Linked DNA regions of Homo sapiens: region 2 is linked to region 1. The links are contacts of gene promoters, found by promoter capture Hi-C in blood cells and fetal thymus (Javierre and others, 2016). All regions are on one chromosome and are shown on one strand. Each heading gives the region's core, a stretch centred on a gene start or on the middle of the fragment in contact. The rest is flanking DNA. Distances are from core to core; before and after follow the strand shown.

Region 1 (5,138 bases), core at 1,565-4,064:
GCAGCCTCAACTTCCCAAGCTGGGGTGATCCTCCCACCTCAAACTCCTGAGTAGCTGGGACCACAGGCGCACACCACCATGACCAGCTGGTTTTTTTGAATTTTTAGCACAGATGAGGTTTTCCTTTATTGCCTGTGACTGGTCTTGAACTCCTGGGCTCAAGTGACCTGCCCACCTCAGCCTCCCAAAGTGTTGGGGTGACAGGCATGAGTCACCGTACCTGGCCTGCTTCTCTTTTTTTAATGATCACATCTGGGTCTCTCCCCTGAGAGACTGAGGCACTGGTGGGGGCAAGAGGAAAGACCCCAAGGGAATAGAACTTAGGCAGCCAGGTTGCCAGATAGCTCACCTATGGGGAGTACAGGAGAGGAGTGGCCTGTCCTACAGCCCCTTCTCCAGCATCTGGGACCCCTCCCTCTATATTCTTACTGTGTTTGTAGACTGCCAGGCACTCCTGCAGCTGGGGTGGGGTTCGAGTGGCAAGAATTTCAATGGCCACGTCCACAGCAGAATCTGAGGCCTACAAGAAATTGGGAGTCTACTCTCAGACTGGCCGTGTCATTAGGATGGCAGACAGAGGGGCAGACGCTGGCTGCTTCTCCTTCTAAGAAACAATATGGGACGACGAGAGGGGGACTCTCGTCTTGCAAAAGCAAGGCTGACAGCCTTCTCCCTTCCCCAGACACCCCAGCAAGTCTCCCCTCCTGCTACCTTCAGAGCTGTCCTCAATTCCTGGGCGTCAAACTGGGCTGTGGGCTGCAGCAGAGCCATCACAATCCTCTCCAGGTTGCCGGAAAGTGCTGCCTGTAGAGACTTCATCAGGTCCTACAATAAATGGTCCTCACAGCAGAGGGACGGGGGTGAGGGGAAGGGCCCCAGAAGTGTGGGGAGGTTTGGGAAGATTTGGCTGGTTTTCATCTCAGGCCCTGTTTAGCCAGGAAGCAGGGGCTGGCCTCAGCGGCTGTTGCTGTCTCTCGAGTCCTCCAGGGGGTTTCTCACCCCAGTCCACTGCTGTGGGAGGTCAGCATGGCCTCACCTGTTGGGTGCGCTCCTGGAAGTTTCGTGAGATGAGCTGCCTTTGCTCTCTGCTCCGGTTGGTCAGCACGTCCACAATGGCACTGCGGTCCACGCCTGAACCGAGATGAGGGCTGTGCTGTGAGCAGGGTCTTTACATAGTGGGATGTTCCTACTCCTTGGAGGAGGGAAGGCGCTCCAGGAGAGGGCTGGGAAGGAAAGGAGCAGGGGCTATATCACCCCCACTTCCATTTTATCTCAAAAGAAGTTGCAAATAAAATGTCAAAACAGCATGCAAATCTGACCCAGACCAAGGCAAAGGTGGCCTGGTGTGGTGGTTAAAAAAAAATACGACTTGGGGGGATCGGCTGACCTAGATGAGAATACCACCTCCGTCATGAGCTGAGTGACCTTGGGCAAGCCTCTTAATCTCCCTGAGCCCCAGTTTCCTCATCTGGAAAATGGAAATAATAAGCCTTGCCTCACAGGGGTGTTGTGAGAATGGGTTTGACACACCTACTGTGGCGCCTGACATACAAGAATGAAGGCATTCCACAAACATTTCTCCAACATCACTAGTTCCTCCTTCCTGGCTCCTCCTTGGTCTACAGATTGGCTCTAAAAGGCAGTCTCAAGTGCCGGGGGAAAGGGGCTCACCTTGGCCAGTAATGGCCCTCAGTAGCCTCTGCGCATCCTTGTCCACGCTGAAGTTCAAGAAGGTCCTGAGGGTGCCCAGGGTCCCCCACGCTGCAGTCTGTGGGAGCACAGGGTAGTTGGCAAGGGCCAGGGCCAGGCTGCCTACACCTCCTCAGCATAACCTCAGGGCCTGTCCTCCACTTTCCTGCCTCCCATCCTCTCACAGCCCGAGCTGAGATACTAAAAGTGATCTCTAAAATCCCAACAGCCCCTACCTTGCTGGCCAGGCCCAGGTGGCTGAGGATCTCCTGGGTGAGGGACGGTGCCATCTTCCCGCCAGTCACAGACATGGTGCTACTGGTTGCCCTGGGGAAGGAAACAGGAGCCCACAGAGCTGAATTTCCTGGCCCTTCAGGGACTCCTTATGACCCCCCCGAGACCCTGGACCCTGGGTTCCAGTCACCTGTTCCTTTCCTTGCTGCAGAAAAAAAGATCAACCTGCTTAGGCTTGGAGCCAGAAATGGAGCTGAAATGGTGAGGTAAGAGGGGAGCCCCCACCTTCCCCACCTCTCCCCACTCCTTTAGGAAGTGGGGATTGATGCGGAATGCTCCTGGACCAGGCGCCAACCCTCCCTGATGCCAGGGTCAGCACCAAAGCTCCTCAGGCCTTGGTCCGCGGTAGATGCCTCCCTTCTGAGGTCTATGGCCCTCCTTCCTGGGCCTGGCTGGGGTCTCCTGGGCAGTGCAGGGGAGCTGAGGTGAGGTGGCAGGATTAACCACGCAGAGTGGAAGACAACTCGAAATAGCATCTTCCCCCACCGGCAGCCCCAGCTGACAAGCAACCCTCAATTCCTGCCTGTACAGCTGCCTACCTGCTCAGCAGCACAGGAGCACAGGCCGGAATCTCTAGGTCAGCAGGTGCAATCTCTTAGCTGATGTGAGCAAGAGTTCTTGCAAGTACGTGGATGCCTGGACAGAAAGGAGGCACTCTCATGTTGGAAAAGGAAAACTCATTTTTCCCTCCCCCAAGCAATCAACAAGCCCTCCTGGCATGGGGCCGTGGGCCCAGTACTTACTCAGAGGTGCCAGAGGTGAGGTGGGTGTCGTTGTTGTGGCCTGGTAGCTTGCCTGTGTGAGCACTGCCTCCGGTGTGGCCTGGTAGAGGAAAGTGGGGGTGTGTGCAGCCTAGGCTGAACAGCCAGTCAGATGACCTCTCTTAGGGACGAACCCAGCAGTTGTCTGACTCTGGCCCCTCCCAGACGTGGGAGAGGACCGGGCTGTACAGAGTCCCACATGCAGACACCTTCCTGCCCAGCATCTCTTCTCCCAGGAACTGGGCCTCAATCCATGTGAGTGAACTCCACTCAGCCTCTCAGCGGCTCAGCCTCAAACACAGGAGGCTTTTATGCACTGCCTTCCCTGTGGGTCCAGGTGGGACCACAGAGACCTAGTCTCAAAGTCCAGCTTCTGACCTGGCTCTGCCCCAGCTTCTGACCTGGCTCTGCCTCTGGCTCCAGCTCCCTGGGGGGCAGGTCAGACAGGCTGCAGGCTGATTTCAAGGCTGATAGGGAAAAACCTGTTGGGGCACATACCAGCAGGGCACCCCAGCCTGCACCCCAGAGGGGGTCCCAGCCCAGAAACTCCCTTGACTGCTGCCTTACTAGAGCCAGCTGACCTAGGTGGAGAGTGCCCAGGGATTGTGTATATCTGTGGAGAAGGAAGGGCACAAGTATTTGGGAGTGGAAGTTGATGAACAGAGTCAAGAGAGAAAAATGCAAAGGGTGTTACCTTCAGAGGGAAGCTCTATGCTCCCAAAAGGCAACAGGGAGATGGGGGAGGCTCCCTTGCCTGGTTTCTTAGATTGCTTCTGTTGCCTTTTGGCAGCCTGGGCCCTGTGGCTGTTTTAGCTGCAGGTGATGCAACCCCAGCAGCTGGACTTGAGGCTGTCTCTGCACAGAGCAGCAGGTGAACAGCCCTGTGGAGCCCCCGCCCCGCCATGCAGCAACTGCTCCAGCCTCACAGCTGGCTCCCTCAGGTCTAAACACAGCCTCTTTCCTGCCTCCCTGGAGAGCCTGGGTAGGGGCGGGGCACAGAAGCTACAGCCCTGCCTCCACTCACTCCTCTGCCTCTCTCCCAACTCAGGAAGGCCTTCACTGGCATTCCTACATCCCTGGAGGAGGGACCTGCAGTGGCTCCACCACACTGAGTAGACCATGCCGGAGGACACGCCATGAAAGGATATTTCTGTGGCGGTAATCACTGCTCCTCACTTTTCTCTCCTGTTAAAAGGAAAACATGCACCTGTGTCAGAACTGGAGAATGAGGGTTCAATATCCAGCTCTGCCACCTATGTTCTGTAAGCTTCGCTAGTCCTTTCAGCTCTCTAAATGGGAGGATTGAGAGAGACGGAGGCTGTGGGACATGCTGGGGCCTCCGAGGACAGGTTTCCTGGGATGATTAAATGAAGTAATGTGTCCACTAAAGAACTTATCCATGTAACCAAACACCACCTTGTCCCCAAAAACTATTGAACTCATAAAAATAAATAAATAAATAAATAAATAAATAAGGTAATGTGGCCAGGCACGGTGGCTCATGCCTGTAATCCCAGCACTTTGTGAGGCCGAGGCGGGTGGATCATGAGGCAGGAGATCGAGACCAGCCTTGGCTTACACAGTGAAACCCCGTCTCTACTAAAAATACAAAAAATTAGCCGGGCATGGCGGCGCATGCCTGTAATCCCAGCTACTCGGGAGGCTGAGGCAGGAGAATCACTTGAACCTGGGAGGCAGAGGTTGCAGTGAGCTGAGATGGCGCCACTGCACTCCACAGCCTGGGCGACAGAGTGAGACTCCGTCTCAAAAAAAAAAAAAAAAAAAAAAAGTAATCTGTGTAATTGCATGTGGCAGAGAAAAGTGCCCTGTAAAGTAGGGGTATTAGATTAAATAAATAAATATACAGGACATGCAGCTTAATCAGAATTTCACGTAAATGAGGAATCATTTGTTGGTACAAGTATGACCCAAATATTTCATTAAATATACTAACATTTTTTTTTTTGAGGCGGAGTCTCTCTCTGTTGCCCAGGCTGGAGTGCAGTGGCATTATGTTGGCTCACTGCAAGCTCCACCTCCCGGGTTCAAGCGATTCTCCTGCCTCCGCCTCCCGAGTAGCTGGGATTATAGGCGCCTGCCATCATGCCTGGCTAATTTTTTGTATTCTTAGTAGAGATAGGGTTTCACCATGTTGGCCAGGCTGGTCTCGAACTCCTGACCTCGTGATCCACCTGCCTTGGACTCCCAAAGTGCTGGGATTACAGGCGTGAGCCACCGCCTGTAATTATTATTTTTTGTTTATCTGAAATTATAGTTTAACAGTGTGTCCTGTATTTCACCTGACAACCCCAAAATGGAACTCAGTCTCAGCGTGGTGGCTAAAAGCAAAGCTTCTGGAGCCAGACTTCTCAGAGTCGGGATTCTGGTCTTCTG
Region 2 (5,138 bases), core at 1,279-3,778, 410 kb after region 1:
TCGGGCAAATCCTCCAAAAGGGAAAGGGAGGATTTGCTTAGAAGGATGGCGCTCCCAGTGACTACTTTTTGACTTCTGTTTGTCTTACGCTTCTCTCAGGGAAAAACATGCAGTCCTCTAGTGTTTCATGTACATTCTGTGGGGGGTGAACACCTTGGTTCTGGTTAAACAGCTGTACTTTTGATAGCTGTGCCAGGAAGGGTTAGGACCAACTACAAATTAATGTTGGTTGTCAAATGTAGTGTGTTTCCCTAACTTTCTGTTTTTCCTGAGAAAAAAAAATAAATCTTTTATTCAAATACAGGGTGTGATATGGGTCTTTTCTCATCGACGCCTCTTTTTCCTTCCCTCTCTTAGGCAAACCTTTTAGAGAAGTCAGCTGAGCAAATATGTACAGGTGAATTCAAAGCAAAAGCCTCACAAAGTTGATTTGCCTTAGAGCAAAGGACAGTTCCTTTCTTCAATTCTAATTAGAGGTGTTGGGTTTTTAATTAAATATATTACTGCTGTACTTAGAGGAGTTCTTAAACCTCCAAGTAAAATCAAAAACCTCTTTAAAATCAAAATTTCTGTCTTGATTTATTTATTTATTATTTTTTTTTTGAGATGGAGTTTTGCTCTTGTTGTCCAGGCTGGAGTGCAATGGCACGATCTCCGCTCACCGCAACCTCCGCCTCCCAGGTTCAAATGATTCTCCTGCCTCAGCCTCCTGAGTAGCTGGGAATACAGGCATGCGCCACCACACCCAGATAATTTTGTATTTTTAGTAGAGATGGGGTTTCTCCGTGTTGGTCAGGCTGGTCTTGAACTCCCGACCTCAGGTGATCTGCCCACCTCTGCCTCCCAGAGTGCCAGGATTACAGGCGTGAGCCATCGCACCCAGCCTCTGTCTTGATTTTTTTGAATCACCAGGTGTTGGTATGTTTTGTTTTGTTTTGTTTTGAGGCACAGTCTCACTCTTTTGCCCAGGCTAGAGTGCAGTGGGGCAATCTCGGCTCACTGCAACCTCAGCCTCCCGAGTAGCTGGGATTACAGGTGCCCGCCACCATGCCCGGCTAATTTTTCTATTTTTGGTAGAGACGGGGTTTTGCCGTGTTGGTCAGGCTGGTCTTGAAGTCCTGACCTCAGTGATCCACTCGCCTCAGCCGAAGTGCTGCGATTACAGACCTGAGCCACTGCGCCCAGCCTTGATCTTGAGGTAAGAGGGTACTGTACAGCAGTTACTCTATCATAACACCTAAATAATACCTAAAGTTAAAGAGTTTTGATGAAGTTCTTGGCAGCAGTGCTTTTCCCCTTCTGCTTTCCAAAAGGAGGTAAAAAGAAGCCAGTCAATTTCAAAAACCCCTATCCTGCTTTTATTTTCAGCTACCTTGAAAGTGAGCTGAATCACCATGGAAATGTGCAAATGTGAGGTTTGCATACTTGGTTTTAAGCCCTGAGCACCATATGCTAATCAGGCAATCAGGATTCTGTGCCTCCCTGCAGTCAGTTGCATTTCTATTTAAAAGTGCATTTTGGTTTGGAAGCCCCTTTCTGGAGCCTAACTACCAAAAGGCAGCAACTTTTTGTATCATTACAAAGAAAGCTGTGTAAGTGCACTCCCAAGCAAAGGTGTGGTAGGAGAGTAGCAGCCACAGAGGACCCAAGCCCAAGTCTTGGCCTGAGTTAAGTTAGTGCTATTGCTCCCATTGACGTGCTATGATGTGAAGCCGTTTCTGGTACAGTGTTCCTTTGCTCAGCACCTTAAAAGCTTGGATTTAATAGTAACTGGGTAACCTTAATCAGTAGTCAGAATTATCAACACTTTGCTTTATTTGACACAACCAGACTTTCTCAGTTCCTGTTCTGTATCTAGAGCAACGTCTTCATACTGTTTTTTCACAAAATTTTTATTTAAAACAGTTGTGACAGCCGAAGGATTTTTTTTTTTTTTTTTACAAAATTAAAATGAAATAACTTGTACAACTGGTGCGTACCATGGCTCCAGCCAGATGCCCAAAGCACTGGCTATTAATTCCTGGAGTTCAGATGGTCAGTTGAGTCTATCCTAGTTTTTTGCTTCACTTGTTCAATCATGGAACTTTCTAGAACGCTGCCACTCTTCAAAGGCTTCTCAATTTCAAATTTGAAAACTTAATTCTCTCCCTCTTAGTTTCAAAGTTGTTACAGTGTTATCTATGTGAAGTATGTGGAAAGTTGGGGGCTGGGGATTTTCCTCCAGGCAGATTAAGAAACAGCTCTCCGGGTCGGGCGCTGTGGCTCAGGCCTGTAATCCCAGCACTTTGGGAGGCTGAGGCAGGAGAATCGCTCGAACCCGGGAGGCGGAGGTTGCAGTGAGCTGAGATCATGCCATTGCACTCCGGGGCCTGGGCGACAGAGCCAGACGCTGTCTCAAAAAAAAAAAAAAAAAAAAGGCACGGTGACTCACACCTGTAATCCCAGCACTTTGGGAGGCCAAGGTGGAGGGATCATGAGGTCAGGAGTTTGAGGCCAGTCTGGCCAATACAGTGAAACCCCATCTCTACTAAAAATAAAAAAAATTAACTGGGCATGGTGGCGGGCGCCTGTAATCCCAGCTACTTGGGAGGCTGAGGCAGGAGAACCACGTGAACCTGGGAGGAACCCCGGAGGTGGAGGTTGCAGTGAGCCGAGATCGTGCCACTGCACTTAAGCCCAGGTGACAGTGTGAGACTCTGTCTCAAACAAAATAAATACCTCTCTAGTGAGGTGGCTCACGCCTGTAATCCCAGCACTTTGGGAGGCCAAGGCGGGCTGATCACTTGAGGACAGAAGTTTGAGACCAGCCTGGCCAACACGGTTAAACGCCACTACTGGTGGCGGGCACTAGTAGTCCCAGCTATTCAGGAGGCTGAGGCAGGAGAATTGCTTGAACCCAGGAGGTGGAGGTTGCAGTGAGCCAAGATCATGCCACTGCACTCCAGTCTGGGTGACAGAGCGAGACTTCCTCTCAAAAAAAAAAAAAAAAAGGCCAGGGGCGGTGGCTTATGCCTGTAATCCCAGCACTTTGGGAGCCCAAGGCGGGCAGATCACCCGAAGTCAGGAATTTGAGACCAGCTTGGCCAACATGGTGAAACCCCGTCTCTACTAAAAATACAAAAATTAGCTGGGTATGGGGTCACGCGCCTGTAGTCCCAGATTGCAGTGAGCCAAAATCACACCACTGCACTCCAGCCTGGCGACAGAGCGAGACTCCATCTCAAAAAAAAACACCTCCGAAAATTTGGTGTCCTTTACTAATAATTCTTGGGAAGTAGAAAAAGGATATACGTAGCAAGCTTTTGTTCCCACACTATACTTGGTTTCTAATTTGCAGTTCCCTTCTTGACCTGCATAGAATAATAGTTATTTTCCATTGGGAAATGAGAAATCTTCAACATTGAGGTAAGTTAGGATTTTTTTTTTTTTAAGAGGTGGGGTCTCACTCTATTGCCCAGGCTGCAGTGCAGTGGGACTATCACGGTTCACTGCAACCTTGAACTCCTGTGCTCAAGCAATACTCCCACCTCAACCTCCAAAGTAGCTGGTACTACAGGTACCTCACCATGCCTTGTGTTTTGTTTTGTTTTGTTCATAGAGATGGGGTCTTGCTATATTGCCCAGGCTTGTCTATTTAGCAGGAGCTCTAGGCAGCCAGATGTTGAGAGTGTCTTCATTTTTCCATTACATGACAGTAGACTGCTTATTATGTATCATGAACTGTTAGATAATGGAATTATAAAGAGATCATTCTTCCCCTTAAGAAACTCAAAAAAAGAGGCCGGGTGCGGTGGCTCACGCCTGTAATCCCAGCACTTTGGGAGGCCAAGGCGGGCGGATCACAATGTCAGGAGTTCAAGGCCCGCCTGGCCAATATGGTGAAGCTCCGTCTCTAGTAAAAATATAAAAATTAGCCAGGTGTGGTGGTGGACTCCTGTAGTCCCAGCTACTTGGGAGGCTGAGGCAGAAGAATTGCTTAAACCCGGGAGGCCGAGGTTGCAGTGAGCTGAGATTGGGCCCCTGCACTCCAGCCTGGGAGACAGAGCAAGACTCTGTCTCAAAAAAAAAGAAAAAAAAAAGAAACTCAAAAAAAGATTGGGGAATAGTTCAAAAGAAACATGACAACTAACTACACATGTCAAAAAGCTATAAAGGACATGGGGACATTTGCGGAAATTTATGGATTGTATGTTACTACTGTATCGATGTTAAATTTCTTGAGTATTATACCTTGTTTTTAGGAGATGCATGCTAAAGAATTTATGCATAACGAATCCCATAATGAGAATGCAAATGTGGCTAGATGTTAAAGTTTGTGATCTAGCTGGGTGCAGTGGCTCATGCCTGTAATCCCAGCACTTTGGGAGGCTAAGGCAGGCAGATTGCTTAAACCCAGGAGTTTGAGACCAGCCCAGGCAATATGGTGAAACTCCATCTCTATAAAACATAAAAAAAATTAGCTTGGCATAGTAGCACGTGCCTGTGGTCCCAGCCACTGGGGAGGCTGAGGTGGGAGAAACGCTTGAGCTTACGAAGTCGAGGTTGCAGTGAGCTGAAATTGTGCCACTGCACTCCAGCCCAGGCAACAGAGTGAGACCCTATCTTAACAAAAAAAGAAACACACACACACACAAAGTTTACAATCTAGTAAGAGTCATAGACATGGACAGAAATAATTAGAAGGCACTGTACAAAGCATTGTAGGGTTGGGAAAAAGCAGGGTGACAACTTCTAGACGTAGAGGGTGGTAAAGAAGGCTTCATAAGAAATGTGAGGTTGGACCTTAAAACATGAGTAACGAGGCTGGGCACGGTGGCTCATACCTGTAATCCCAGCACTTGGAGAGGCTGAGGTGGGTAGATCACCCGAGGTCACCAGTGTGGCCAACATGGTAAAACCCCATCTCTACTAAAAACACAAAAATTTGATGAGCGTGATGGTGCACACCTGTAATCCTAGCTTCTTGGGGGGCTGAGGCCGGAGAATCACTTGAGCCCGGGAGGTGGAGGCTGCAGTGATCCGAGATCATGCCACTGCACTCCAGCCTGGGCAACAGAACGAGACTCAAAAAAAAAGATGAGTAAGAAACACGTACCAAAGCATGGAATTGGGAAAGACCCTCTGGGTGTATGGAGATG

Evidence for each region. The method cuts DNA at HindIII sites, captures the fragments that hold promoters and counts their contacts. A CHiCAGO score of 5 or more calls a contact.
Region 2: a fragment that was not itself captured here is called in contact with the fragment with the promoter of ANXA9 in region 1 in 1 of 17 cell types (neutrophils); the score reaches 5.7 in neutrophils.

What each region holds. Positions count from the first base shown.
Region 1 is chr1:150,979,968-150,985,105 of GRCh38, reverse strand. ANXA9 (annexin A9) reads right to left here and starts at 2,814. Exons shown (of 14, transcript NM_003568.3): 1 at 2,727-2,814; 2 at 2,523-2,619; 3 at 1,926-2,016; 4 at 1,672-1,768; 5 at 1,037-1,131; 6 at 712-825; 7 at 430-520. The coding sequence starts at 2,000. It overlaps LOC105371438 (a long non-coding RNA gene), which reads left to right and starts at 3,601. Exons shown (of 3, transcript XR_922135.3): 1 at 3,601-3,685; 2 at 3,793-3,902; 3 at 5,020-5,138. RefSeq lists an enhancer at 1,429-2,290. The HindIII fragment of the contact is 18,662 bases long and covers 1-4,013 here.
Region 2 is chr1:150,569,719-150,574,856 of GRCh38, reverse strand. It overlaps ADAMTSL4-AS1 (ADAMTSL4 antisense RNA 1), which reads left to right and starts at 305. Exons shown (of 4, transcript NR_104133.1): 1 at 305-733; 2 at 1,036-1,198. It overlaps MCL1 (MCL1 apoptosis regulator, BCL2 family member), which reads left to right. Exons shown (of 3, transcript NM_021960.5): 3 at 1-299. The HindIII fragment of the contact is 1,546 bases long and covers 1,756-3,301 here.